Regions from separate parts of the Homo sapiens genome. Here region 1 is linked to region 2. The links are contacts of gene promoters, found by promoter capture Hi-C in blood cells and fetal thymus (Javierre and others, 2016). All regions are on one chromosome and are shown on one strand. The core of a region is centred on a gene start or on the middle of the fragment in contact, and the rest is flanking DNA. Distances in the headings are between cores, read along the strand shown.

Region 1 (3,479 bases), core at 929-3,428, 110 kb before region 2:
ACTGATCCTAAGCAAGTCAGCTCCTCGATTTGCCTGATGACGATGAATATGAATACAGGCTTTCTCTCCAGTACAGTTGCTCTTCATCAAAAACAGGCTGGCTCTAACATATTTCACAAACACAGAAAAGTGTGCCAAGACACAGTCAGCAATTCTTTTTAATTTTTGAGATTTAAAATATTACTGAACTTTGTTTGAGTTTTACATTTCTCATGGATAATTTTACTGTGAAATTTATGATGCTATAAAACTATGTTTATGAAGATACTATAGTAGGTTTCACATATCTCCATATCTTATATTGGTAACATTTAAATTTGAATACTACATCTTTATCCTTTCATAAACTAGAAGATAATTGTTCTGATGACTAGCAGAAGAAGCTGGCAGGAACGATAGATTTGCCACTCTTTGCTTTCTGTTATTTGTGAGTCTAATTACTCTAGTTGGTCAATTAATGGCAACACATGACAAAATCTTCCTACTAATTGACTCTCACTATTTTGTTACTGCTGAAGCTTCCTCTAATTTTGTATGTGCATATGTTACCCTACTTGTCATTTTTTTCCTCCTAACCTTCCTTATCAGAAAGCCCATCTCACCAACTTCACAGTCAGATAATTCTTGTTATGATCAGGAAAAAAGCAAACAAGAATGAATGTGACGCCAATTAATATAATTACTAATTAGAAGCCACATTTTGAGGGCATTAAAACAGAAGAAGAGTAGAAATGATAATAACTTGGTTTTAGGGAAGCTGTTAACATATAAATAGAACCCAAAATGGCACCACTGGTAGTTTTCCAGGGACTTAATATTTCTGACACACACTCAATTTGTGCCCATGGATAAGACATACTATATTATAGGAGAATCAAAGAGTTACATATTTGGAAAAATCAGGTTACCAAAAAGAATAATGACATTGTTTAAACAATAATGCATTAAACTTTCCTTGTTTATTATGCTAGAAGTTGTATGAGATTATCTGAGTAAAAGCATTTCAATTACTTCAGCATTGTGGGACATGAAGTGTAAAAGAACTCAGAACATGGGAAAAAAAGGAAAAAGAGAAAGGAAATGGCTGAAAGATTAATTACTTGGCTGTCAGCTGCTAGGGGAGTTTATTTATGTTCTCTTAATATTCATAAGGCTCTTGTCAAAATGGTATTATTAAATACCCATTTTATAGAAAAGGGACTGAGGCTGTTCAACTGCAGTTTATTTGATGGGTATTTATGCCTGTGATGGGGACAGCTATGTCAGGAACTTCAATTCCAGTTAAAGTGAAACCTGGCAGAGACATAGTTTTGATCCAAATTTTGACAGTAGTACAATGTTGCTTGTCCTTCTCCGGGATGGTAGTCTGTGTTTCCCTGTAACATTTTGTCTGATTTGTTTGTACCAACTATTTGGTTTTGTAAATTTATGTGACACTTTGTTTTAAGCTAATTATAAATGTAAATTAGACTCTAAGATGTCTTTTTTCCACTAACTGGTTTTGTAGTAGCAAAAATCTGAAATTACATGCAAAATGCTGTTTACAGTTGTTTTAGTAAGGGGATGCAGAGCAGTCAGAGTGAGTTGTCAGATTCTCAAAACAAAATCAAATTATCTAATATTTTACATTAAATCAGGTAATGAATACCGCTTCTGGATCCAAACATTGGTTTAATTATTTATAATCTTTGCAGTGTCCCTAAAATATCTATTATCTCCAATTAACACTAAGGAAACTGAGGCATAGAGAGGTCCAAGTAAGTGGCAGGGATGGAATTCAAACCCAGGTCAGTTTCAGGCTTGAACTCCACTAATTCTATACCTTTCACTGCCTCTCTCACTGTAGGTAATTGTATTAGTCTGTTTTCATGCTGCTGATAAAGATATACCCGAGTCTGGGAAGAAAAAGAGGCTTAATTGGACTTACAATTCTACATGGCTGGGGAGGCCTCAGAATCATGGTGGGAGGCAAAAAGCACTCCTTTCATGGCAGCGGCAAGAGACGATGAGGAAGAAGCAAAAGCGGAAACTCCTGATAAACTCATCAGATCTCGTGAGAGGTACTCACTATCACGAGAACAGCACGGCAAGACCACCCCCTTCCCCCCCGCCCGACCACGATTCAATTACCTCCACCTGGGTCCCTCCTGTGACATGTGGGAATTCTGGGAGATACAATTTAAGTTGAGATTTGGTGGGGACACAGCCAAACCATATTAATAATCAACAAATGTTCACGTATTTCCTTTACATCAGGTGGAGTAAAAGAACAGGTGTGTGAAAGAAACAGAATCAATCATTAAGCGATACTTAAACCAGTGCAGATTAGTTTTAATGTAAATGTTATAATAATAATGCTAGTCAGCAGTTACTGGATATTCATATTATGTTAGAAACTGTGCATTTAATACATTATGGGTTTGTTTGTTTGTTTGTTTGTTTTGAGACGGAGCCTTGCTCTGTTGCCCAGGCTACAGTGCAATGGCGCCATCTCGGCTCACTGCAACCTCCGCCTCCTGGGTTCCAGCGATTCTCCTGCCTCAGCCTCCCGAGTAGCTGGAATAACAGGCATGCGCCACAACGCCTGGCTAATGTTTGTATTTTTAGTAGAGACAGGGTTTCACCATGTTGGCCAGGGTGGTCTCAAACTCCTGACCTCAGGTGATCCACCCGCCTCGGCCTCCCAAAGTGCTAGGATTACAGGCATAAGCCACCGTGCCCAGCCCTTTATGGGTATTTTTAAAGTTAAATCTCACATATATACTACCGACTCTAGGAAGTAGCTAAGGTGATCAAAACATCAACATGATCAGCAATTAAGTGGAAAGGGGTTCCTGGGGGATGGTTTTGACCAAGACATTAAGGAGAGAAGGGATGGGCAGTGGTGGGAAGACTGAGAAGCTATTTATAGCAGGGAGATAGCACTAAGCATGCATTGCTTGCTTAAGAACTGTGGACCCTGATAACCTAAAAAGTGTGGTTTTGATGAAAACTGAAGAGTTATACCTTTATGCAGTTTAAAAATAATAGACTGATATCTATCCATCCCTTCATGTTTGAACATAACTGGTTTGGAGATGTGTTGAAATGACTGATCTCAAGTTCTCTTTCAAATCTGAACTAAATGTCTGTGTGATGGAGATAGAGGCTATGGAGCTGCTTTCCCGAGCTCATTGATACAGCCCCCTCACTTTCGCCAGTGTTTTACATTCTGGCAAACCAGCATAGTTCTTTTTATCTGTAGTTATTATACATCTAGTTGAGAAAACCCAGTTTGATCTATTTATACCAAAGTACAAATGAAATCTGAATTCATCTGATTAGTTCTTCCTGTAAAATTGTGTTCATTTCTATCACATATGTTGTAACATAAAGATTTTTGGTGATATCCTAGTCCCAAAGTGATAACCTAGATCATCTGACTCTACATTCTCCATAGGAATAAATCATACGAATCTCTCTGAAGTAATGTTATAATT
Region 2 (3,609 bases), core at 622-3,121:
TCTGAACGCTTGGGTTTACACTTGAGGCAGCTATAATAAAAGGCAAGGCAAGGAAAGGGAGTGAGGAGCCCAATCAAATCACCATAGGCTTTAGAATTTAACAGACAAGAGTGTAGCCAAGCTCTACCATCCACTAATAATACAAATATTGACAAAATATTAATTGCTCTGAGACATCTAGAAAATGAACATTTTAATTCTGATAAATGAAGATTGTAGTATCTACTTTGTAGATTTCTTTTGAAGATTTGTGAATATATGAAAATGGCCTAAAACATGCCTCACATGATTTATTCTTTAATGCTATTTTTATTATTTTTAATGTTACTGTAGATTTTATGTCGAATAAGGTATCAGCCAACTCAATATTCGTCTTGCCTTCAGTGAAAGAACTTGTAATTTGTAAAATAATGGCTTCCTTATTTTTGTATTTTCTTCTGTGTGCTTTTTTTTCTCCTTAATGCTCTTTTAAAAGGCCTTCCCTCCCAACCAAAAATTCTACCTTTGCCTTAGTAGCACTAAGGAAGAAAAAGGACCTTTCCGCAGCACCCAGTCTAGAGTAGCTTATTGCCTGCAAGGCTATGGGTTGGCCAAGGAGGCCCAGGATCTCAGAGAAGCAGAAGAGCCAGGGGAACCAGGGAAGGGCGGAGGGAGTCATTGAGGCATGGTTGAAGTGGTCTTTACATGGCTCCACACAACAGATGGACTCTACCACATTCAAATGCACTTGGAGCACCTTCTCAGTAAGAGATGATGCCCCCTCAAGTGTTTGCTTGTTTAAACATACCTTCATGTGAGTGGAGAGTAGGAGGAATCCTGCTTCCTGAAGGTAACTGATTTCATAGTAGATGAAGTTAGATATGAAGTTAAACTCTTCAATTAAACAGATTAACAATAACATTAATCCGAGGTTTGTTATGGACAACACATTAATACTGGTAACTTGCCAGTAGATACGCTATAGTCAGCAAACAGTACAGCTTGTTTACGATTGCTAAATCAAATTTTCAAAGAAATGTAGTTCTGGTAATTGTAAGCAAAACCGTTAAAATGGTCTGAGTTAGTTTTGAAGTTACTTTCATCTTCAGGAGGTTTTGAACTCTGTTAGAGACGGGCGGGCCTCATTCTGTCAGGTTGTAGGTTAATTCCCCAACTCAAACTTCCCCGATCAAACATTGTCAGGCCAGGCGACTGTTTTGGTTTATGGATGATAAAGTATAGGGCCAAGGTAGGCCAAGAGTAGAAGACAGAGGGAGGGCTGGGTTTCACTTCTAATTTTTGGCCCAAGCTTTCATGGTGAGGAAACTGTTTTCAAGGGCTTAGAGCAATCGCAGTTCCACAATCGCAGATAGAAAGTATGATTTCTCTGGAAAAAAAGTGTCTTAACCTATGAAGCTGTGTGTGAAGATCAAGTGTAGGGGATACGCTGAGGTCAAGTCATGCGACCAAAGACCGGAAAACGGAGATTGCTGCATGCAAGCGTGCTGGGCGTTTGTTTGGTTTGCTTGCCTGCTTAAAGTATCCACTGGGAGGGATGGCGGCTAGAAGTCAGAGGCATTGACTGATTGAGGAACTGGTGAAGCGGAGCCCATGAGGTGCTGAGGTACTCTAAATAGGAGGATAAGGTATGAGGCAAAACAAGGCTGGAGTCAAACAAAGGCGCCGTTGCATCGCAGATTGCAACCTGAAGCGGCTCCCGGCTCCCTGGAGAGTAACCCGGAGAGACGGACAGGGGTGGCAGCCAGGAGGAGACCGCAGGAACCTCGCCTCCGCCGCGGCCCCGCCCCCACGGATCCCCGCCCCCGCAGTTGCGGAACCAATGGGAGCTCGGAATGTTAGCGGGTGGGAGGTGCGGCTGGGTTGCTACAGCCAGAGCTGGGCGGTGGCGGGCGCTGCTGAAGGAGTCTCGCTGAGCTCGAGGAGGTGGCGCGATGGAGGGACTGGAAGGTGAGGCGATGAAGGGATGAGGGCAGGACGGCTAGAGCGGGCCCGAAACAGCTGGGGACCCTGGACACCAGTAGCAGGAAGGCGAGGGCTGGTTCGGTGCGGCGGACCTCGCCGCGTCCCGCCGCGCCTCCGGAGGCTGGGGCCGAAGGGAACCGGACAGTCCCCGATGCGGTGGAGCTAACGCTACCAGGCTGCCCCGCCTCAGACGGTCTTCAACTGGGCTTTCCCGCCCGGAGCCAGATCCTGCCCCTGGCAAGACGCCTGCACGTCTCTTCCTACCATTTTCTGATCTTGCTTGACTCCTGAGTGCCCTTTTAGTGATCCCAGTCTCTGGCCAGATTTTGTTTTCCTTGTACTGGACTCTCTCCATTATTGTCCACGGCCTTAACACCAACAGGCCACTTTGTGCTGCAGCCCCGGGGTGTGTCTCCAGCCTCGAGCTCCTGACATTCCTTGGCCGATTTCCCTAGGTAACCGGCTTTTTACATTTCGACAGCATCTTCTGTCGGAGGGATGTCAGAGCATCTCCTAAGGAAGTGTCACTGGCCAGCTTTAGAGCCGGTACAATAGATTACCCGGAGGATTTGATGACTTATTCACGGCCGCTGTGTGAGGAAGAGCCTGTATTGGTTCCTTATCTTTGGGTTTATCTTTGTACTGTAACCATGACTCCAGATTTTGCTTTGTTCCCAGTTCTTTCACTTTTTCTCTATTCTGTTTACCCATTTTATCCTGTGTAATGAAAGCATTCACCTAAAAACAAAGGAAGGACAAAAACCACAATAACTAGCATTGGCAACAACAGTTTCAAGATTTTTTAATTTGTTATGATGAAGAACAAACCTTCAGAATTGAAAGATCCTATTGTCTTGATTTAGCTCCTTTCCCCCGTCTCCTAGTTTACACGGATTCAGTTGGAATTAAGAATGAGCAGAAGCTTTTGAGTCTTGTGTATTGTTGCATGCCAGGGAGTAAAATATTCTACATTGTGTGATGAAGTGCAAAGTGGTAGCCGGTAACTTTTTCAGTCACCTATTCACCAAAAAGCAGATGTAATAACATGAGTAGAAGTTTATTTCGTGCTTTTGCTCTGATAAATGATTCTGATAATTTTCCGTTTGTGGACAGCTGCAGTATGCTATGGCCTAATGAAGGTCTTGTTTTTTGCTTATGTGTTTTTGGAAGATAATTCAAGTTTCCATGAAATAAGGAATTGTAATGATAGTACAGTATATTTTACTTTCAAGATACTTTTGTATCTTGGTGGGATTAAAGCATGGGTTATGGAATTCTCATGAGATTATCATATATAATATGATAAGGTTTTATTACATATTATCTATAAAGTGTTTTGAACAGTTTGCAGATTTTTATTATTTTATTCAACATTTGTTATTAAGACAAAGATCATCATCTGATTTTTCACTTATGTATCCTAGGCACCTAAAACAATGTCTGACACAAAGTAGGTACTCAATAAATATTTGTTGTTAAATAAATGTCTATTATGGGCATCTTTTTAGGTTCTAGGTTGCAGCAAAGAATAAAAATGATAAAGCTTTACTCTCATCGAACCTACATTTTAGTGGACCTTACATTTTAACAGTGCTAAGATATTACTATTGAAACCTTACTACGAATGTTTTTAAAATATAATGGAAA

Evidence for each region. The method cuts DNA at HindIII sites, captures the fragments that hold promoters and counts their contacts. A CHiCAGO score of 5 or more calls a contact.
Region 1: a contact is called between a fragment that was not itself captured here and the fragment with the promoter of ZC2HC1A in region 2, in 2 of 17 cell types (activated CD4 T cells and non-activated CD4 T cells). The highest score is 5.8, in activated CD4 T cells.

Annotation. Positions count from the first base shown.
Region 1 is chr8:78,556,497-78,559,975 of GRCh38, forward strand. All of the region lies in intron 1 of PKIA (cAMP-dependent protein kinase inhibitor alpha), which reads left to right. PKIA-AS1 (PKIA antisense RNA 1) reads right to left here and starts at 2,007. Exons shown (of 3, transcript NR_125389.1): 1 at 1,928-2,007; 2 at 3-103. All of the region lies in intron 2 of LOC105375911 (a long non-coding RNA gene), which reads right to left. The HindIII fragment of the contact is 3,325 bases long and covers 517-3,479 here.
Region 2 is chr8:78,664,218-78,667,826 of GRCh38, forward strand. ZC2HC1A (zinc finger C2HC-type containing 1A) reads left to right here and starts at 1,872. Exons shown (of 9, transcript NM_016010.3): 1 at 1,872-1,947. The coding sequence starts at 1,932. It overlaps LOC105375911 (a long non-coding RNA gene), which reads right to left and starts at 1,762. Exons shown (of 4, transcript XR_007060972.1): 1 at 788-1,762. RefSeq lists enhancers at 995-1,503, 1,504-2,011, 1,976-2,025 and a silencer at 1,686-1,905. The HindIII fragment of the contact is 1,596 bases long and covers 1,287-2,882 here.